Linked DNA regions of Homo sapiens: all the other regions are linked to region 1. Evidence: promoter capture Hi-C in human tissues and cell types (Jung and others, 2019). All regions are on one chromosome and are shown on one strand. The core of a region is centred on a gene start or on the middle of the fragment in contact, and the rest is flanking DNA. Distances in the headings are between cores, read along the strand shown. Region 1 holds the start of TPGS2 (tubulin polyglutamylase complex subunit 2). Region 2 overlaps LOC112268212 (a long non-coding RNA gene). Region 3 has its middle 36 kb from the start of ZNF24TR. Region 4 overlaps ZNF24TR (ZNF24 transcription regulator). Region 5 has its middle 27 kb from the start of INO80C.

Region 1 (4,471 bases), core at 1,169-3,668:
GTGATAAAAGTGGAATTCTTGCCATGCAGAAAAGAGTGAACATAGCAGGCCCGAGACAATAATCCTCAGAAAGGTCTGCCAATCGGGCTGCCAAAATCCTTTTGTTGTAATGAATCATAGCCATGAGTAGGACTATCTCCTGAGTCCTGTAATCCTTGCGTCAAATCATTGAATCTGGTGTGATCTTGGGGAACCCTAATACAATTTTTGTTCCTGATTTTAAGGGGAAAGCTGCCAGTCTTTCACCATTACATATGATGTTAGATGTGGGTTTTTCATAGATGTCCTTCATCAGGTTGAGGAAATTCTATCTCTATCCCATCCTATTTCTAGTTTGTTGAGTTTTTTTTAATCAAGAAAGGTTAGATTTTGTCAAATGCTTTTTTTATTAAGATGATTATGCAGTTTTTGTCTTATTCTATTAGTAAGTTGTATTATATTAATTGATTTTTTTTAAGTTTCTTTTTTTTTAGTGACAGGGTCTTGCTATGTTGTCCAGCTGGACTTGAACTGGGCTCTAATAACCCTCCCACCACAGCCTCCCCAGTAGCTGGAACTAAAGACATGGGCCACCATGCCCAGCTATTAATTGATTTTCATATGTTAAAACCACTCATTCCTAAATCACACTTGGTCTTGGACTTCTATTAAAAGAGACACAAATTTTAAAAATCAACCAAACAAATACATAATTTCAAGTAGTGAAAGTGCTATAAGAATAAAAGAAAAAGCAGGGTAAGGAAAGAGAGAGCAAGAAAGACGGCGGTTATTCGAACTATATTCAGGGAAGGTTTCTCTGAAATAATGACATTTGATCAGAGATCTGAATGACCTGAAGAAGCGAGACATTCAGAGAAAGATAATTCCAGGTGCAAGGACTAGCAAACTGCAAAAGCCCTGAAGCAGGAACCCGCTTAGTGTGTTTAAGGTACAGCTAGAAGGCCATGTGGGCAAGAGTGGAAACAAAGTCAGAAAGAGATGAGAGCAGATCTTACAGGGACTTGTGGGTCATGGTACAGACATTTGGATTTTATTATAATTGTGATGGGAAGGCACTGAAGCATGCTTTTCAGCCTTCTTAAAAGACCTTTCTCCTCCTTAGTTTTCTGGCTAACTCCTATATGTCTTTCAAAATCTAGCATCATCTCCTCTGTGACATGTTCTTTAACTTCCCTGGTAAGATCAGTCCCCTCCTCTGTGACATCTCTGAGTAACAGATTACTGACCTCTTTTCACACTCCTAGTGACCTCATTTGTTTATTTTTTTCACAGAACTGTGTCTTTTTCATATTTTTAACCTCACGTCTAACATAGTGGTGAGTACTAAAGAAACGTTTGATAGGCCAGGCGCGGTGGCTCACGCCTGTAATTCCAGCACTTTGGGAGGTCGAGGCGGGTGGATCACCTGAGGTCAGGAGTTCGAGACCAGCCTGGCCAACATGGTGGAACCCTGTCTCTACTAAAAATACAAAAAAATAGCTGGGCGAGGCAGGAGAATTGCTTGAACCCAGGAGGCGCAGGTTGCAGTGAGCCGAGATCGCGCCATTGCACTCCAGCCTGGGCAACAAGAGCAAAACTCTGTCTCAAAATACAAACAAGCAAGCAAACAAAGAAATGTTCGATAAAAGAAAAACTCTGAGTCATTCAGTGGTGCAAGGTTGGATTCCTTTCAGACCCGACGTAGTTGTCGCCCTGGGAGGTCGGGTGCATTACTTCCCCCAGAGAAAGGTCTTGGGTTTCGGGGATAATGCCCTGGCTGAGAATGCCTCCTAGGGGGAGATCCAACTTCCCAACCGTCAGGTGCTTGCTGTGTTCCCTTTGCACGTCTCTGCCCGTCCTTCCTGGGTGGGACCTTGGTTGGCGGTGAGTGGGGGAAACTTCAGGCTTCCCAGCTCTGCCTCCGAACACTCCTGGCAAACACTTTCAAGGCCTAATCACAAACCCAGGTCCCCCACTTTCCTCTGTAACAACGGAAGTCCCAGCAGCGATGTCCACTCCTGTTCTGGGGCCAGCGTCGCACCGCTCACCCCGCACCTCATCCCTCCGCTCCTCCTTCCTTCTCCTCCACACCCTCTCGGCACCGTGCCCCCTTTCCTCACCTAGGATGCGCGTGATGCCCAGGGTCAGCTTCTCCAGGTGCGGCTTGCTGCAGCCCAGCCCCGGGGACGATGCCTCCTCCTCCATGGCTCGCGACCGCGATTCGCGCGCGGCGGGAGCGGGTGGAGGGCCGGACCCCGCCTCAGCGCCGAGGCCAATTTCATGGCATGCCGGGAACGGTAGTTCTCGGCGCCTGAAAGCGCGGCGCAGTGATGATGGGGGCCCGGGGTTGGTCTGACAGCAGCAGCTCCGTGGGGCGCCGGTTCCCGCGGCCCCGCCCGGTGCCCCACACCGCACCTCCGGGACGTAGCTTCCCCTTCGCCCCCACCCTCTCGCCCCGCAGGGGCCGGCCGCGCAGGCGGGGGCGGGCCTCTGCGTGGTGCGGCCAATGGGGACCGAGCCTGCAGGCCGAGGCGTGGCGGCCCAGGCGCGACGCCCCGAGTGGCGGTTGTTTCAAGATGGCGGACGTGGCGGGCCCCTCCCGCCCCAGTGCCGCGGCGTTCTGGAGCCGGGACTGTATCCTTTGCCCGCCTGACAGGGGGCGCCGGCGCCCTCCACGGGACGGCGAGGGGCGAGCCGTCGCGTGGCAGTCCGAGAGCGGAGGAGAAGCTCCGAACTAACCCCGGGGATGGGGACGTGCTGCTCGGCCCCAGTCTAGGTGCTGGGCTCTCCCCTTGCTTGGGTGTTAGGTGGCCGAGAGACTGGTACTGTCTGCAGGTGTGGGGACACGGCTCAGATGCTTCCCAGCGCTCACTACCGGTGAGCTCGAGAAAGATAGCCTTGAGTCCAGGCTCAGTCCAGGGCTGAGATGGCCCTCCGAGGTCCCTCTGCCCACCCTGTCAGAGTGCCCCCAGGCTGACTTGAGTGTGCGGAGCTAGCTCGAAGTTGAGGGAGGAGTCGGTGTTGGCTGGACAGGGAGCCTTTTTGTTTTGATTTAGGATTGTCTTTAGTCTGCATTGCTAGGAGCAAGTCAGGACCTTTCGGACTTAAAAGGCCCTCCAGTGATGATGTATTTTAATACTGGGGTTTTAGGAGAGGTGTGGAGCTTGGTTACTGGGATGTGGTCTGGTGGTGCTGGTTACTGCGTAAGATGGGAATCATTGTGCCTGGAAGTATTGTTGACTTACTTGTGGAGTGCGGGTCACTGGCAGTCATTGAAGTTCTTGGATCGTTGTGAGGTGGAGAAGCAGTGGAACTTTTTAGTCCAGTGGTAGTATTACCAGTTCAGCAGCAGTGATGAGATGTTTGTGTGACAGGAGTGTTTCTTTCCTTGGAGTAGGTAGACTCTTCTCGCTTGAGCTTTGGTCCTGATAATTTACTTCACGTTCCTTAGAGGGGTTACTTGAAAGAGGGACGGCAATCTGTGTTACTGAGTGCTTGCAGAGGCAGCTCTTTTTGTGTTTGCTAGGATTGGTGATGGCATTAATTGAGGCGTTGCTGTTACCTTTGGCAGAATCACTGGGCATTCTTCTTAGCTCCCAGTGAAACTTACAAAACTGTGTTATCAACTCCTTTGTTGAGTTACTAGGATTAGTGTCATGTGTAGAGAGAGGGATATGTTTGTATTCTGTGCTGCTCGTGTTTAGTGTTTGCACTTACTAGACATAATTACCATTTGTCTCTGATAGGTTGGTGAAAAGCAAATGAAATCATGTACATACACTGTGGATGAAAGCATACTAGTGCAGTGTGCAAATTAAATATTTTTTCCTTTACCTTTCAGAAGAGAATATGTGCACTGTGGACAACTGGGCTGAATTAGGAAGTTAGGAAATTGGGATAAGTCTTTTCTCAAGAAACACTGCTTCTGCATTGACATAATTTTGTGATGGAGGAGATACTTGAAGGTTATTAGCTTATAGCATCCTATGGTACTGTTCAAATATAGAATCAATGGTTTGGGGGGGGGACAAGCTATTGCAATGGGACTGAATAAGTGTATTAATAGATATATGGACTGAACCTAAGCTCTTGGTCTTCGCACCCAGTACTTTCACTTACTCATGTAGTTATATCACCCCCTATTTTATGTAGAAGTCATATATACTCCGTTATCTCTTGTATTCTGACTCCCAACATTTAATGTAAAATATTCGTCCTCTCATAGATAGTGAGGAATTGAAATTGTACAGGGGAAAAATGGTGGCGATTATATCCTATAAGATCTAATTCAGATGTATGAAAGGAATTGCAAAGTTGCTAGTGTCACCTTTCCCCTCAGACTATTCCACGTAATGACCAGTTAACATCGAGCCTCAGATATTTTCATTTTAAATCTCCATAGAGAATGTCACTGTAAGCAATGTCAAATGTAAATTTGTTACTGAATATTTGCTGAAAAGCATAATGATAGTTATTAATCATTTGATTTAGT
Region 2 (4,471 bases), core at 1,061-3,560, 1.7 Mb after region 1:
AGATAGTATCTAGAATTGAGAAGAGAGAACATGCTGGATTTAGAGAACTGATCCAAGGTGTGCAGATCCTTCTTCCTGGATATTCATGTGACACCAGGGCTGCAGAAGCTGAGATTGGCTGCTGAAAAGCAGTGGATGACTGTAATCTATACTCTCTGCCTCCTTCTCTGAACACCTATTTCTCTCCACAACACAATCTAGAGTTGTATCATGCATGTTCTTCTTATCCACAGTTGGCTTGCATTTTAGCCCCAACAATGCTGTTAACCTACCCCCAGGCCTAGTTGTCAAAATTAACATAAATAAATGAGTCTTGGGCCACAGGAATTAGAGCTCCTTGGCACACTGAACAAAGCAAGGTAGTGATTCTTTTGAATTTGTTCTGGGCATAGGCAGTAGGAATGGTGAATCCATCCTTCTTGGATTGCTCATATAGGCAATCAAAGCCCACATCTTTAAATGCTGAGACAACTGGATAACTGCAGTAGGTGGAAGCTGAAGAAGTATAGAATGCGTAAGAGGAAATGCTGTGTTTTCTCTATTACCAAGAGGCCTTGAACCATCTTGAAGAGGGATCCACATATCAGATGATTTTTCCGAAACATTTCGATGATGTGTTGGTGTTTCTGGTGGTCCATTGTTTTCCATATTATCCCTTGATTTCGACCAAGGTCTTTTTAGATACTCTGGGTGCTGGGAGTAATAAATTTGACAGCTTAATTTATTATAATAATTTATGTGTTTAATCTTTCTTTTTAAATGAGCCCTGTGGCTCTGCAACTGGTACATACAGTATTTATAAATACGATTAATATAGTGTCCACTTTCTGGAGCGGGATCAAACAAAACGAGAAAAATAATACTAAGTCAACTAAAAGCAGCTGGCTGGACTCTGCATTCAGCTATTTGTGAGCAATTGGGGTTTTGTTGCCCTTATTTAGTGGATGTGTGGAGTAGGTCTGTGAAGCTGAAGGGACCTTTGAGTTTCAGTTGGCCCAGGTCTGCATTTTTAGATAGGTGTATGTCTATCCAAGAGGAATGCTCTAGAGCTCCAGCTATGCAGATAACGTAAACACTTTAGCTAGAACTGACATTTCTTTAGCTGCCAAAGCTATATTTTGTACTTCATACCTTTATGGGAATGAGTGAGCACCGTGGTGGGTTAATGGAATTACTTATGCATTATTGTCCTTACTTTTGAGATGCTTGAAATTTAGAATGTAAAACGTGGTAGGAACAGAATGTCTACTCCCCTGTATGGCCAAAACCCAACAGGATAAAATAGCAATATTGGTTGTGTCCAGAAGGACTGGTAAAGTCATTTTACATGCTGAAAGGACTATAGACGCTATCCTGCAGAAGAAGGCAAACAGCAGGTGAGGAAGAGCACTTATCAACTGTCTGTTTTGGTACAGTGTAAATAAAGCTCAAGACCCTGTTCAACCAGCATCCCAAGTATGGATAGGCTTTTTTTTTTTTTTTTTTTTTTTTTTTTGGCTTGAACCGGAAACATCTATTTCAAAATTACCTGGGTCAAAACAAGCTAAAAATGACCTGGGTTAATAACCCCATAAAGAGTACAGGGACCATTCTGTGACAGGTCAGGGAAAATATGGAAAGAACAGAAGAAGGAGGGAGAAAAGGTAGCATGAGAGCCAGGGAAATAACACTCTTTATCTTCATCAATCTGATTTCCTATAACATCTGGTCATCTTCAAGGGAGAAAACGTCACAGAAAGCCTTGAAGTGTGTATAATCAAATGTCAACATGAAGCTAATGCTTCACAAGTGTATTTAATAGATAAAAAGAACACTTATAATGCCATCATGGACGACCATGAAAAGCATATTAGTAGCCTTGCAGAAATATAAATAAAAATACATAAATAACAAACAACATTTTATGAACAGCTAACACTGATATTTGTTAAGCAGATCAACCTACTTCAAAAATAAAGAAAGCTCTACACTTAATAGTTGGATTCTTTAGAAAGAAGATACATGGTTTCCACCTATAGATATAAATAATGAGAGTTGTAATAAATTACTAACACTGACTAGTTTAAAAGGCAGGTAGCACTTACTTTTCTTGACCAGTGAGCTTTCCACTACATCACAATGATGAGCTAATAAGACCTGCAGGGGTAATTTAATGAGACAAGAATAATTTGACCTGGCAAATGAAAAAGAGTGGCACAGACTTATAAGGGATACTGACTCATTTCCTATAAAATTATAAAGAAATGACCCTCCATTACAGTAAGAAAATTTTGACCAGATAGAAGGAAGTAGTTTCCGGAAGTGAGAATATACCATTAGCTTATGCCACAGAAACATATTTTATATAATGGAAATGGTTCTGCAATCGTCTATGTGGGGTAGTTAAATCTAATCTTGTCTAAAAATGAGGTAAAGAACTGGTTGATCTTGCAAGGTACTAACCAGCTCTGTGAGCTGGAAAAAATGGAAACATGTGACCTTCATGAAAATCCCTGTTTCTTTTCCTACTTCTCATTGGCAATGGGACCCTGGGGGACTGGGGCACATGTTGTTCCAGCAGAGGTCATGCTGATGACATTTCTATGGATTTTTCTCTTTCTCAAAGAATCAAAAATACAAGTGCTGGAAAAGACCTATTGCTCCCTTCTTCTGTTCCCCAGGGGCTTTACGGAATTGCTTCCAAAGTTCTTTCCTGCAATGTCCAGTCAGGTTTTAAATAAACCAAGACATGGAATATCCATCTGGGCCTCTGGAGAGATTTTTGTAACGTAATCCATCTTCTATTTAGGATATTTTTTTCTCAAAAAAAGTTCATTACAAAAGACAAACCATCCCATTCCTCTAATTGCCCCTGAATTGGTCACTAAATTCTTACTGCCACTAAAAGAACCTAATCATGTTGAAGGCTTTGTCAACTATCCAGGTGGCAAATAGAGTTTTGTGCATTTTGAATTTTCAACTATTGGATTCAGATGGCTTATTTGTCACCATTTCTCTCAGACATTTGGATTCCTACAACATAATAAATGCCAAATAGTCACTCTTGAGCTGCAACCTGCATGAAGTCTCTGAGGTAAGAGGGGAGATATGCTACACTTAGTGCCAACTCCATTCTCAGTTTTCAGGTAAATGCCAGACTGAAGATTCCACCTTTGTCCTGCCCATGGTAACTGCAGTTGTTGATGAAAACCTGTGTCTCTTGAAATAAATATTTTTTTATAAGTAAAAGGAACAAAATCAGTCCTTTAACTTCTTTGTGCTCAAATAAACCTACCTGATCAGCATGGCCAGTTTGGATGTCTGTGTGTGTGCCTATGTACTTATAGTCATATATAGTTATATATTTTGTTTCTTACTGAAGGAACGGTTGAATAGAACTATCTGGTTTAAAGGATGAGCTTGACTGATTACTGTAATTCATAGGGCCTTAATTAGCTGCACAAACCATTAGCTACAATTAGACTATTATAAAACACTTGATGCGCTATGTCAACCATGGGGCCTCATTTATTCTTGTGGCAGGGATCAGGAGGGGGAGGGCAGGCACACTATACCGCCAAGCATGCTAATAAAGAATCATTTTTGATTTAAGATGTTGCCGATAGTGCCTCAAAATTAATCTCAATAGCTGTCTAATTTGTGTCAGTGGATGGTATATTTATTGTAAAATGACACCAAAGCTAAATGAGTTACCTGAAGCAGGAGTGTTAATGTCAGTGCCTGGAGATTGGACTCCATATGCTGGGTTACAGCAAGACGCTGGTGCTGAGTGCTCCCAGTGGACGGCTTGGCCTCATCTGTCTCAGAAAGCTCAACAACTTGACTTCCACTTTTTGATTCTTAAATACTAATCATAAAAAAAAAGAGAAAGAAAGAGAGTGGAAAGAGAGACCCTGTCTGGAACACAAAGAGACAAAGAGAAGAGAGGTGAGAAAAGGAGAGAGGGAGAAAAGACTGAGAGGCATTGTTACAATATGAGCTTCCTAGGACCAAGCTTAGCTGTAAGTAATTATGGAAATGAAGATAGCTGAGTCCAATTTATCTTTCTGTAGGTTTTTTATTAAATAAGAAATAAAAGGGACATACTAGTAGGTAATAGTCTTCTAAGGAGTAAAAGTAAAGAAGAAAATATTATCTTTCATTCTAAGATGTCTTGATAGCAATACTTCACATTTACATAGAGCTCTGAAGCTTCAAACATCATTCAAGTTCATTGGAACTTCCCTGGAAGTGTGGGAGTCAGCAGTGGTTGATATAGAAGCTTTGATTCAAGGGAGGCAGGAGAAGTGCCTGGTCCAAGGTCTCTTGGTCAGTTACCTACAGTGGCGGGACTGAAATTCAGATTTCCTCAATTACAACTCTTTTCAAAATATATATTTTCAACATGGCTCCCATAACTGTCAAATCTTTAGAATTCTTGAGGAAGAAGAAGCAGGTGGAGGAGAAGAATGGCATTTCCTGACCTTGCCCA
Region 3 (4,471 bases), core at 1,184-3,683, 1.4 Mb before region 1:
TAGTCCGTTTTCACACTGCTATAAAGACATACCCGAGACTGGGTAATTTATAAAGGAAAGAGGTTTAATTGAATCACAGTTCCACATGGCTGGGGAGGCCACAGGAAACTTATAATCATGGCAGAAGGGGAAGCAGGCACCTTCTTCACAAGGTGGCAGAAGAGAGAAGAGCAGGGGGAACTGCCATTTATAAAACCATCAGATCTCATGAGAACTCACTGTCACGAGAACAGCATGGGGGAAACCATCCCCATGATCCACTCACCTCCCACCAGATTCCTCCCTTGACACCCTGGGGGTTACAATTCAAGATGAGATTTGGATAGGGACACAGAGCCAAACCATGTCAGGTGGACATTTTAGATTTTGTTCCATCTACATTTTTTTCAACTTTGTTTTATGGAAATATTCAAACACACACAAGAAGTAGAGAGAATAACATAACAATCTCTCATGTGCCCATCATCTAGCTTCAACAATTATCAACGATAGTCTGGTTTCATTTCTCCCCACAAGTTGGTTTTACGATGGGTATATTTTAAAGCAAATTCCAGACACCATGTCATTTCACCTATAAACACTTGAGTGTGGGTTTCTATCAGATAAGGATAGTATTTTAAAAATATTTTTCCTATGACATTATCAAACCTAACAAAATTAGTGATTTGAGGTGGACCATTAGGCATGGTGGTATCAAAGGAGAGAGGCTAGCAGTGAAGTGTTCAATCTTGTATTCATATTCTATTGCTGCTGTAACAAATTACAGCAAATTTAGTGGTTTAAAATAATACACATTTATTTTCTTACAGTTCTGGAGGTTAGAAGTCCAAATCAGTCTTTTTTTTTTTTTCTTTTTTTTGAGATGGAGTCTCGCTCTGTCACCCAGGCTGGAGTGCAGCGGTGCCATCTCAGCTCACTGCAACCTCCACCCCCCAGGTTCAAGCAATTCTCCTGCCTCAGCCTCCCAAGTAGCTGGGACTACAGGTGTGTGCCACACATCAGTTAATTTTTGTATTTTTAATAGAGACGGGGTTTTACTATGTTGGCTAGGATGTCTCAAACTCCTGACCTCAGGTGATCCACCTGCCTCGGCCTCCCAGAGTGCTGGGATTAGAGGCGTGAGCCACCACGCCTGGCCCAAATCAGTCTTAGTGAGCTAAAATTAAAGTGACAGCAGGCCTGCTTCCTTTCTGGAGGCTCTAGGGGAGAATGTGTTTCCTTGCTTTTTCCAGTTGCTAGAAGCCACCACATTCCTTAGCTCATGGCCCCTTCCTTCATCGTCAAAGCCAACAATGGTACATGTCTCTGGCCATTTGTTTTGGTATTTACATTTTCCTTTCTGACTGTCTCTTTCACTTTTAAGGACCCTTAACATTATATTGGGCCCACTTGAATAATCTAGATTTTTCTCTCTGTTTTAACATCAGCTCACTAGCAACCGTAATTTCATCCACAACTTTAATTCTGCTTTGCCATGTAACCTAACACAGTCACAGGTACCAGGGATTAGGACATGAACATTTTTGAGGGGGTGTCTGCCACAGTCCCCTCCTCAATTATTTATCCATAGGTTTTAGGCATATGGTTAGGGGTAGGAGCCAGGAGATGCCAATAATAACAGGACTGGAAAAACCATGAGAGAAGGGATTCAAGTTCTGCATAAGAAACTTCAAGGAAAGTTTTCCAGTGTCACTATCATAAATAAAAGAGATATGAAATCTTCACAAAAAGGTGCAAGGCAAACTGAGAAACTCCTTTGCATGACTTGCCAGTCTTGGCTGCATTCAGAATTTGTTTGGAGAAGGAAAAGGCCCTTCCTTTTTCTCTCTAAACAGAGATTCAGTAATGCCAAATGGGCCCTCGTTGATGGAAAAAATCACTATGTAACTTTAAAAAAATTATAGAAATGTAAATCAGTGATGACAACAAGTCTTTGGCCCATCTGATAAGGTGGCTGGTGCCCACTGCTGGTGGCCTTTGCTGGGGCTCAAATAGAGAAGAGCCACCAGGATGAGGGTAGGGTCCCCAGCATCCCCTCTCTGTGAGTCAGCTTACAAAAGGCCATGTTGACTTGGATGTGAATCACGCCTATCTGTTCCAAGCAAGATTAAAAACCCAAGAAAATTATTGTTGAGCAAGGTGTTTTATGACTTTAGCTTACTTCCTTTTTTGAAACATTAGGAAATGTCAAAGTTAGTTTGTTCAGATTTATTAGAGAATGTGTGGAAAAGGGAAAACCTAAAAAACAAAACAAGAACAAAACCGCTTGTGGTTGGTTGACGCACAACTGTCTCTTGGGCATCATTTCTAGGCAAAGATTGTCATTTTGTAAACAAGGGTTTATCTCCCAGACTTCCTTGTTTTTGGATAGCTGATTGCCAGACATTGCTGGCACATGCATACTCACACAGTTATCTATACTTGTTCCTTGCTGCTTATTGCTCATGCTAAAACCTCTTGAATGTAAGGTTTTCAAACAGTAACATTTCCAAATACTAACACTTTGGCATTCTCACGTATATACTTTGTGTATTCGGAAGTTGTATTATTAACGTGGTGCAAACCTTGTGTTTAGTTTAATTAAACAGCAATGCTTTGCTATGTTTATTTCTTGGAGGGTGTGTGTGTGTGTGTACGTGTTCCATGCATGCCTCACATTTCTATTTGCATATGTGCATAAATCAAGAAAGCAACCAAATAAACAAACGCTGTTCTACTTCCCTACTAAAGTGACTTTTAAAGACTTATTGAATTATATTTTAGTGAATTTGAGTAAAGCATTTAAGTGCAGGGCAAATTAGAGCAAGCAAAACATTCGAGCATACATAACCATTTTATCTTGGCTCATGGCCCCTTCTTCATCTTCAAAGCCAACAATGGTGCATGTCTCTGGCCATTTGTTTTTGGGATTTAAATTTACATTAAAACAAATTTAAATTAAAATTTGTTTTAAATTTTAATTTAAAACAAAATTGTGGCCACAGCATGGATTGTGCTTCTATATTTATTTGCTCAGCTTCAAAAGTAAGACTAGTCCAGCCTTTATCCTGGGCAGGCTGTGGTCAACAAGCCACCAATCTCTTCAGTGGGGCCAATATCAGAGGACTGGCATGGGGACCTCAGATATCCATCAGGTTCCTCTCTCAGGAACATGGGAGCAGTGATCTTTTGGGGGGCCACATGGACACTGCATCCCCTGCCTTGGGCACTGGATGGTATTATCTTGCTGGAATTCCCTTCCAACTCTGCCAAGAATGTCTTTGAGACAGAGAGACTGATGGGAAGAAAGTGAGGAGGACCAGCTCTAATGAGGTTCAACTGCAGAGGTTTCAGTGTTGGTTGTGCTGTTTGACTTCACTGGGACCCCATCCTCCAGTTTCAAGCACTTCTCAGAACTCATGATTATTCCTCAATCTGAAACTTTAGAGAGGTTGGGGGACCACTTCAGACACCTAAGGGCAACAGAAAGGAAGCGCCGTGTGCCAGCACTCTACTGTCATTCGTGGTGAAAAGCTTCCTTCTCTTTCCTATTTTTTGTGGTTGGCAAAATATAAAAGGTCTTTCTACTTATTTCAAAAGGAAAAATAGAATGAGGGAGGGAGGGGGAGGTAAAGGCAGAAAGAGAGAGATCAGTTCATTTTTGTTTGGGGAAAACTTTTAGTCTATAACAGCAGCAAACATGTATTGTGGCAGTGGCCTCAGCCCTGCTGAAGGAAATCCAGGCCACATTAAAATCTGGGGAATTTGAAACGGCAGTGTTTGTAGTGGCCTGCAGATTTCCACTGGCAATTTCTTTAAAGCCAAAGAGTTATAATTAAAATAGAAATGGATCCAATTATTTCTGCCTCCTGTCTGAAAGGATGTAGCTGGTAATGAGAATCACATGTCTAAATTTCAGCTCCTTCTATTTCCAAGCAAGTTGCCCCATGAGAGAAATTCTTTCTTTTCAGCAAATCTCAGTAAACCACATTTCTCCCTCCTCCTTAGCTACTGTGGTTTTGCACTGATTTTTACAAGTCCCAGCAATGGAACTCAGTCATAGTAAATGTTCTTATTTTTCTCTCCTTTCTACTCTTTATAAGACATGTCAGGGTGATAAGACTTATTTTTTTGTTTCAAAGAGACAGAGATTAGAAGAGTGGGAGGGCTTAGTCTTAACCAGAAAAGATTTACCTTATCAGGAACAACAGGCTAGGTAGCTTGGCCATTGCCACTTGGGATATTCTTAGGCTAAGGGAGGGAGGTGAGGAGGTGACTAGGTGATGGGGGTAGAAGGGGTGTGTAAGGTGGTATAGGTGTACAGGGAGGCCAGTCTTGGGAAGAATTTTACCCACTGGGTGAGTGAGGCTCAGATAACATGGTGGTCAACAATGTGCCTTAGAAATGGCAAAGCCTATACTGGGACAGAATGCCATGGTCACCATGAATAAATATATAATACTGTTGTTCTTATCAGCATTACTGACTATTC
Region 4 (4,471 bases), core at 552-3,051, 1.4 Mb before region 1:
AGACTTGTACACTGAATACTGCAAAACATTGCTGAAAGAAATTAAAGAAAATCTAAATAAATGGAAAGACAGTCCATGTTTATGGCTTGGAAGACTTAATATTGTTAATATGATAGTACTACCCAAAGCGATCTACAGATTCAGTGCAATTCCTATCAAAATCCCAATGATATTTTTTACAAAAATAGAAAAACCCATCCGAAAATTCAAATGGAATCTTAAGGTAACCCATATAACCAAAATGATCTTGAAAAGAACAAAGTTGGAGGATTCACACTTCCTGATTTCAAAACTTACTAAAAATCGACATTAATCAAACAGTGTGGTACTGGCATGGGAACAGATGTATAGACCAATGGAATAGAATTGGGAGCCCAGAAATAAACCCTCACATGTATGGACAATTGATTTCTGACAAGGATGCCAAATCATTTAATGGGGAAATGACAGTTCCTACAACAAATGGTGCCAGAAAAATGGAATATTTACATGCAAAGGAATGAAGTTAGACCCTTATCCTACACTACATACAAAAATTAACTCAAAATGCATCAAAGACCTAAACATATGAGCTAAAACTGTATAACTCTTACAAGAAAGCAGCAAAAATATATTTGTGACATTGGATTTGGCAATGACTTATTGGATATGACACCAAAAGCACAGGCAACAAAATAAAAAATTGATAAACTGGACTTCGAAAAAATTTTTGAAGTTTGGTGCACCAAAAGACACTATCCAAAAAATGAAAAGACAACATTCAAAATGGGAAAAATATTTTCAAATCATATATTTAATAAGGATCTAGTATTCAGAATATCTAAAGAACTTTACAATTCAACAACAAAAAGACAACCCAATTTTAAAATGGCCAAAGAACTTGAACAGATATTTCTCCAACAAAGATATACAAATAGCCAATAAGCACATGAAAAATGCTCAACATCATTACTCATTAGAGAAATTCAGTCAAGCCACAATGAGATGCTACTTTACACCCACCAGAATGGCCATAATGAAAACAAAACCAAAATTAACAAGTGTTGGTGAGCATCTGGAAAAATTGGAACCCTCATCCATTGCTAGTGGGAATGTCAATTGATGCAGCCTCTGTGGAAAACAGTTTGGTGGTTCCTGTAAAAGTTAAACACAGAATTATAATATGACTCAGCAATTTCACTCCTAGATATATACTCAAAAGAACTGAAAACAAATATTCAAACAAACACTTGTACATGAGTGTTTATAGCAGCACTATTTATAATAGCCAAAAGGAGGGAGAAACTCAAGTGTCATTGATGGACAATGGATAAACAAAATATGGTTTACCCACACAATGGAATATTATTCAACCATAAAAAGGAATGAAATTCTGATATATGCCATAATGAAGATAAACTTTGAAAACATTATTCTAAGTGAAAGAAGCCAGACACAAAAGGTGACATATTATATCATTCTATTTATATGATTCTCCTTATACAAAATAAATAGAATAGCTCAGTCCACAGAGACAGAAAACAGATTAGTGGTTGGCAGGGGCTAGAGGGAGGGGGAAATGACTACTAATAGACTGGGGGCTTCTTTGAGGGGATTATAGAAATGTTCTAAAAATCAGATAGTCGTGACAGTTGCACAACCTTGTGAATATATTAAAAACCACTGGGTTGGACACTTTAAAAGGCTTTTTAATATATGTAATTTATATCCCAGTTTTTCAAAAAAAAAAGAGAATCTATCATAGAAATATATATCACAAAAGTGAATACTACCGCTTGTAAATAAATTTTTTAAAGACCATTTATAATAGCAACCAAAAACCATAAAATATTTAGGAATAAATTTGATAAAATATGCGCAAGGCTTCTATACTGGAAACTATAAAACATTACTGAGAGAAATTAAAGAAGATCTAAATAAATGGAAGGATGAGTCAAGTTTATGTTTCAGAAAACTCAATATTAAGATACTCATTCTTTTCCAATTGATCTATAGGTTCAATGCAATTCCAATCAAAATTGTAGTAGGCCTTTTTAATATATATATAAACTTTTTTATAGAAACTAATAGTCTGATTTTACCATATGTTGTGCTGTTTAAGTAGCCAACAGGAAGCCACTTCAGGCTCTGGGAAATCTTTGTTTTATGGAAATGAGCAGCATTAGAACCTTCAGCTAGGAGTGGATGAGTTGGATTTTGCTTAACTCGGGGATCCTTTGATTCACTAGTTACTACTCAAGGGAAAATGAGGAAACAGCCCAGAGAAATGAATACTATCAGATCATTCTCTAAGTGTGGGCCATACTCAGAAATGAGTTTGGAGATGTTGAAGTCACTCAGTAGCTCTATGGCTTCTTTGATTGGCTGATTGTTTTGTGAGACTTCTAAACCTTGTTTCCTCTTGAAATGCCAAATCCATTGCTAACTAAATGAGACAACCCGTAAGGAGGACTTGACAAAGCATACAGGACACTCAGTAAAAGCTGAGCTGCACCCTTCCTGGACCTGGCCTTTTTGGGTCAGGTTTTCTGTGTTGACTCATACACAGATGAAGGTCGTGCTCTGGACAAGGAAGAACATAAAACCAGAAAAAAAGCTGGCAAAGAGTAAAACACAGGGGATGGGGACCAGGACCGAGATAGGAAGAAGCCCAAGAGACAGATGAGCTGCAGACATGACAGGGAAAACAAAACAATGAGATGCTAAGATTGCAGAGTTGGGCAGGTCTGCATGACAGGGTTCATGGAGTATATTTCAGTTTTTCAAAGACCGTTGCCAGGACTTTTTTTCCATTTATTTCTTTATGGCTGGGTGCAGCGGTGACTCATGCCTGTAGTCCCAGCACTTTGGGAGGCGGAGGCAGGCCGATCACTTGAGCCCAGGAGTTCGAGGCATGCCTGGGCAACATGGCAAAACCCTGTCTCTACGAAAAAATATAAACATTATCCAGGTGTGGTGGTGCGTGCCTGTAGTCCAGCTATAGGGAGGCTGAGGTGAGAGGATTGCTTGAGCCTGGAAGAGGGAGGTTGCAGTGAGCCAAGATGGCACCACTGCACTCCAGCCTGGGTGATGGAGTGAGACCCTGTCTCAAAAAAAAAAAAAAAAAAAAAGAGAAAGTATTTTATAATTTGAATGGTATTACAATGTGTTATGTACCACAAATATGCAAATCAAGACACTAATGTTATATTTTGAGATATCTGTACTCAGAACAAGAGAAGCTTCTTCCCAAATTTCCCTTTGAGAGCATCTCTCCCCTTCTCAAATCGTCCCTCTCCCCATAAAACAATGGCAGCTCAAGAAACATTTGATGGATGAAAATCAGACACATATTGATAACCTCACCAACTACTGCAGGAAAGAATGGGCTAGGCTTTGCATATGCACGATGAGGTATGGAATCTACTTGTTTGGTTTTATTGCACCTAGCTATCACCGGAAAGCACTGCTTCTTTATCACAATTCCTACAGGGTAGAATGTGGTGGAGTAACTGGGCATTCTGAGTCATTTCCAAAAACTCTTTAAAGGGGTGTTCTGCAAATAATACTATTTCTTAAGGTAGGAGCAACTTTCACAATCTGTTCAAGTCCTAACAAGTAATATATTACATTTTGAATCAGAATAAGTCAAACCAGAATTTTTAAAGTACATATTAATAATAGTTCTTGTGGATTGTGTAATAGTTAAAATAGCAGTTAAAAAAAAAAGAAAGAAAGAAAGTGGATTTCCCACTTAGTAACTAGTTGATACTTTATCGTAACTAAAGTTTGAAAGGCAGCATTTGGGATTCATGAGTAAGATTTTCTTCCATGACACCTGACCAAGCAATTGCTGCTCCATTCTTTCCTGCAGTAACCTTTATTATGATTTTAAAATAAACTTTGAAATTTAAAACAGTTTCAGATTTACAGAAAAGTTACAAAGATACTACACAGTTCTACAGCTCCAACGCCAAGTTTCCCCTATTATTCACATCATAACACTAGTGTGACACATTTGTTAGAATTAACGAACCAATAGTGATATGTTGTTATTAACTGAAGTCTATAGTTTATTCAGATTTCCTTATGTTTTGCTTCGTGTCCTTTTTCTGTTCCATGGTCCCTTCTAGGACACCAGATTTCACTTAGTTGTCATGTCTGCTTAAGCTTCTCTTGGTCGTGACGGCTTTTCAGACTTTATTTTTGATGGCCTTGTCAGTTTTGAAGACTACTGGTCAGGTACTTTTTAGAATGTCCTTCAGTTGGGATTTGTCTGATGTTTTTCTCATAATTAGGCTATTGGGTGTTGGGAAGGAGACCACAGAGGTGAAATGCCATTCTCATCACATCCTATCAAGGGTACACGGTGTCAACATGACATCACTGTGGGCATTAATAGGATGATTTTTTTTTTTTTTTTACCTTACCAGGGAAGCATGGAGCTCCCTGAAGGATGAGCCAGACCTCAGTTTCCAGGCATATGTGGGAG
Region 5 (4,471 bases), core at 693-3,192, 1.3 Mb before region 1:
GAAGCCAAGTGTTTGGGTTTTGTTTTTCCTGAAGCTTGCACAGCTTTAGACCTCATCTGCTAACAGCACTTGTCTGTTAGGAGATGATTCTGCCTCCTTTCTTTTCCTCCTACTCAGTCCAGAGCTTCAGGGTCCCCGCAGCCAGGCAGTTATTTGGGTGTTAAGTGGCCTTATGCTATTTTTAGCTCTTAGAGGATTGCAAGTGCTTTATACATATCTCTTTACTTCTTGTTTACTTTATCTTTTCTTTTTTTGTTGTTGTTGGTTTTTTGTTGTTGTTGTTGTTGGTTTCCTTTCTTCCTTTCTTTTTTTTTTTTTTTTTTTTTTTTTGAGACAGAGTCTTGCTCTGTTGCCCAGGCTGGAATGCAGTGGCACGATCTCGGCTCACTGAAACCTCCACCTCCCAGGTTCAAGCAATTCTTGTGCCTCAGCCTCCCAGGGAGCTGGGATTACAGGTGCACACCACCATGCCTGGCTAATTTTTTTTTTATTTTTGTATTTTTAATAGAGACAAGGTTTCACCATTCACCGTGTTAGCCAAGCTGGTCTTAAACTCTTGGCCTCAAGTGATTGTCCCCCGCCCTCCCGCCCCTTGGCCTCCCAAAGTGCTGGGATTACAGGTGTGAGCCACTGCGCCTGGCCTGTTTGTTTTATCTTTTCTAAAGCTCAAAACAAATAGGAAGGAGCTTCACCTGCTCCCCCCAGGCAGCTACCGAATGAGAGTCTCTGCAGAGCTGTCAGCCAGCACTTAGTTGACACCAGCCCAGCTCCAGGCTGCAAGTGACTTGGGGGAGGATTGGAGACATGCCTGGCACACTACATGCCTGGCACACTACATGCTTGGCACACTAAAGCAGTCCTCATTTATGAGATGGGGAACAACCTCACCTGCCAGTCCTGTTTCTGCCTTTTTTACTTTTAGTTATAGAAATTTCTAAAAAAGAAGAGAAAACCCTAGAGAGATCACTCCTTGCCTCAATATGGTCCCCATCCTTGCTCTTCCTGTTCTGGAGACAACTTCCTCTTTCTCCTCTCCTTCCCAGCCCAGTACTTCCCCCCCTTCTCCTCCCTGCCATCCCCTTCACACACAAGCTCTTTTTTCCCTCTGGTGTAGTTCGACCCTATAGTAATTTCTTTCTAATTCAGATCAGTGTGCCTGTGTTACCATGGCAACCTGCTGCTACCAAGGCTTCAACGAAGTCACTTCTCCCCTATATTTTTAATAGAAAATCTGCACTCTACATCTTGTCCTATCCGACCTGCTACTGCCAGTTTGAACAAAACTCCAGCCCCAGTTTCCCAAATGTCTTTAAGTATTTTTATACATCATCAATTGAGTTAATTCCAAATACATCCATGCAATTTTCTCCATGGGGGTGTACCTGGCTTTCTCAGTGAGGGGTGGACAAGTTGAATTTGTACTTATGCAGTGGGATTGACAGGAGCTGAACAGTGAATACTGAAGAGGGAAGCGGCTCGGGCGGAACTGCTGCTGCCTCACAGGGAAGGCAGGAGCAAACCAGAAACCCAACCCAAGGAAATTCTCCAGGCCACATGGGTCAGGCATGAGCTTGTGAAATCTCCAGCCATGGAAATACCCAGAACTCAGCATACTCTCCAGGCCCTTCTGAGCAGAAGGTCGCAAGTCTGGTGCAGAGGAAATGAAGCAGCACACACTTTGGAGTCAAGCAGATTTGAGTATTATTTTCAAGTCTGTCGTTGAACTAGCTGTGCTATGTGAGCTTGGGCTAGTTCCTTAACCTCTCTGACCCTCGGCAGTTTATCTTTCAGAGTTACTGGGAGAAACACATAGGCTAATGCATGTAAAATGGTCTAAAATAGTTCTCAGTCAGCACATACTTGGTAAAGAGTAACTGCCATTATTACAGTTATTATAAGGAAAACCCTCTGAGGAAGCATCGAGATACAAAGCCAGAGCTTGGGCTCAAGAGGCATATACCAAGATTACCAAATAATCAGGCTAACTGCAGCGCTGATAACCCAACCCGAAAACACAGTCCAGACACACCAAGATTCAGGATGTAAGCAGTAATTGGGAGCAACAGCACCAGGTCTCGTTACAATTACATGCTGTCATAAGAGCAATAAGCTAGAGTTGACCCGCAAATAAACCACATGTTAACTGCTTCCAGGTCCTCTCCTCTTCTCCTTGGCCTGTTTGCAGCTGATATATGAGTTAGGCAGGCCAAGAACTGGAATGGAGCAGTGTAAGGGAGAGAGCTTGCATTTATTCCATATGGGAGAGCCAGGTGTGACCCAAAGTCAGGTCCCTGCTTGGGCCCAGAAAGGAAGGCTGGGTACACACAGAAGGAGCCATTTGACCTGAGCTGGTTCCAAAGGACTCATGAATGTAGGACTGCTTCCAAGGCTTTGAAACTCCACCTCAAAAAATATGGCATGCAGATGACTATTAAATAGTCATCTATTTGTATCATCTATACATCTTACACCTGTAATCCCAGTGCTTTGGGGAGCCAAGACAGGAGGATCACTTTAGACCAGGAGTTCGAGACCAGCGTGGGCAACATAGCAAGACCCCATCTCTATAGAAAGTAATAATAAAATAAAAAATTAGCTGAGCATGGTGGTGCACACCTGTAGTACCAGCTACTTGGGAGGCTGAGGTGGGAGGACCTATTGAGCCCAGGAGTTGGAGGCTGCAGTGAGCTATGAGCATGTCCCTGCACTCCAGGCTGGGTGACAGAGCAAAACTCTGTCTCAAAAAATAAAAAGTCTTAACGGAGTGCATAATAGAATGTTAAGACATTTTCAAATGTAAAGAGTAACAGAGACCAGATCAGCAGTGCTGTACATATGAAGAGTGTAAGAAAACAGCCACTAGCTCAGTGACCCCTTCTGAGATGTGTAAGAGGAGCTTGGAGAAGAGCAAGTCAAACTAGTGGTGGTTCCTTCTTTGGAGAGTTGTTTCCTAGGCAGCAATGACAGGAAGCAGGACAGGAAACTTGGCATGTATCTGTTGGAAGGTCGTGGGCTGAAGGTGAGACATTGTGGCTAACGCTGCCTCCCATGATGGAGGAAGAAGAGGCATGTCTCGGATCCTCCTCCAAGTCACGTGCAGCCTGGAGCTGGGCTGGTGTCAACTAAGTGCTGGCTCTGCGGAGACTCTCATTCAGTAGCTGCCTGGAGGGAGCAAGTGAAGCTCTTTCCTATTTGTTTTGAGCTTTAGAAAAGATAAAGCAAACAGGCTGGGTGCAGTGGCTCATGCCAGTAATCCTAGCACTTTGGGAGGCTGAGGCGGGCATATCACTTGAGGCCAGGAGTTCAGGACCAGCCTGGCTAGCATGGCAAAACCCCGTCTCTACTAAAAATACAAAAAATAAAAAAATAAAAAATTAGCCAGGCATGGTGGTATGCGCCTGTAATCACAGCTCTCCAGGAGCACAAGAACTGCTTGAACCTGGGAGGAGGAGCTTGCAGTGAGTTGAGATAACACCACTGCACTCCAGCCTGGGCAACAGAACGAGACTCTGTCTCAAAACAAAAACAAAAACAAAAAACAGCAACAACAAAAATGAAAAGATAAAGCAAACAAGAAGTAAAGAGTTGTGTATAAAGCACTTGCAATCCTCTAAGAGCTAAAAATAGCATAAGGCTACTTAACACCCAAATAACTGCCTGGCTGCTGGGGACCCTGCAAGCTCTGCACTGAGTAGGAGGAAAAGAAAGGAGGCAGAATCATCTCCTAACAGACAAGTGCTGTTAGCAGACGAGGTCTAAAGCTGTGCAAGCTTCAGGAAGAACAAAAACCAAACACTTGGCTTCAAGCCCCACGAACCTGGGAGGCGGAGGTTGCAGTGAGCAGAGATTGCGCCACTGCACTCCAGCCTGGGAGACAGAGTGAGACTCTGCCTCAAAAAAAAAAAAAAAGAAGAAGGTGAAGGGGAGCTACCATGTGCAGAGAGTACATGGTAAGAGATCAGGGAAGTGGGGTGGGAAGATGTCATGTTCTTTTTAACAACCAGCTCATGCAGGAACTAATAAATGCCCAAGGGAAGGCATTAATATATTCATGAGGGAACCACTCCCATGACTCAATCACCTCCCATTAGGCCCACCTCCAGCATTGGGGATCAGATTTCAACATGAGATTTGGAGGTGACAAACACCCAAACCGAAGCAAGCTCCAAGAGAAGCTGTCTCCTTCTGACCTGAGGATGGGAAAGGGAGCCCATAAGACTCAGAGAGAGTGGGAGACATTCCCCTTTATTTTTAGTCATTTATTTTATCTCCCACCCAACCCTCCAGGAAACCCCATGGTGGTGACAGTGATAGTAACAGCAGCAGCAACTGAAGAGGCACCTAAAATTCTGAGGGAGTAGAACCCTTCTCTCTGACCAGAGGGACTATAGTCCGAAGAGCATAGAGAAAATTTGAATTGTTTTTTGTCTGTGTCTATTCTCCCACTGCTTGGCTTTGGAGGAAAGATGCA

The links. The method cuts DNA at HindIII sites, captures the fragments that hold promoters and counts their contacts. A contact is called where the count stands out against the background at its distance.
Region 2: a fragment that was not itself captured here is called in contact with the fragment with the promoter of TPGS2 in region 1 in 1 of the 25 tissues and cell types used here (small bowel).
Region 3: a fragment that was not itself captured here is called in contact with the fragment with the promoter of TPGS2 in region 1 in 1 of the 25 tissues and cell types used here (heart right ventricle).
Region 4: a fragment that was not itself captured here is called in contact with the fragment with the promoter of TPGS2 in region 1 in 1 of the 25 tissues and cell types used here (aorta).
Region 5: a fragment that was not itself captured here is called in contact with the fragment with the promoter of TPGS2 in region 1 in 1 of the 25 tissues and cell types used here (IMR-90 fibroblasts).

The regions. Positions count from the first base shown.
Region 1 is chr18:36,826,584-36,831,054 of GRCh38, forward strand. It overlaps TPGS2 (tubulin polyglutamylase complex subunit 2), which reads right to left and starts at 2,419. Exons shown (of 7, transcript NM_015476.4): 1 at 2,100-2,419. The coding sequence starts at 2,184. KIAA1328 reads left to right here and starts at 2,544. Exons shown (of 10, transcript NM_020776.3): 1 at 2,544-2,613. The coding sequence starts at 2,556. RefSeq lists enhancers at 1,779-1,888, 1,989-2,781 and a silencer at 2,179-2,778. The HindIII fragment of the contact is 11,405 bases long and covers 1-4,471 here.
Region 2 is chr18:38,569,222-38,573,692 of GRCh38, forward strand. It overlaps LOC112268212 (a long non-coding RNA gene), which reads right to left. Exons shown (of 3, transcript XR_002958210.1): 3 at 4,038-4,471. Among named protein-coding and RNA genes, the nearest start is that of MIR4318, 910 kb to the left of the region's middle. The HindIII fragment of the contact is 3,564 bases long and covers 529-4,092 here.
Region 3 is chr18:35,428,893-35,433,363 of GRCh38, forward strand. No RefSeq gene overlaps it. Among named protein-coding and RNA genes, the nearest start is that of ZNF24TR, 36 kb to the right of the region's middle. RefSeq lists a silencer at 3,331-3,544. The HindIII fragment of the contact is 7,027 bases long and covers 1-4,471 here.
Region 4 is chr18:35,453,835-35,458,305 of GRCh38, forward strand. All of the region lies in intron 1 of ZNF24TR (ZNF24 transcription regulator), which reads right to left. Among named protein-coding and RNA genes, the nearest start is that of ZNF24TR, 11 kb to the right of the region's middle. RefSeq lists an enhancer at 4,169-4,471. The HindIII fragment of the contact is 3,768 bases long and covers 1-3,685 here.
Region 5 is chr18:35,522,884-35,527,354 of GRCh38, forward strand. No RefSeq gene overlaps it. Among named protein-coding and RNA genes, the nearest start is that of INO80C, 27 kb to the left of the region's middle. The HindIII fragment of the contact is 5,625 bases long and covers 1-4,471 here.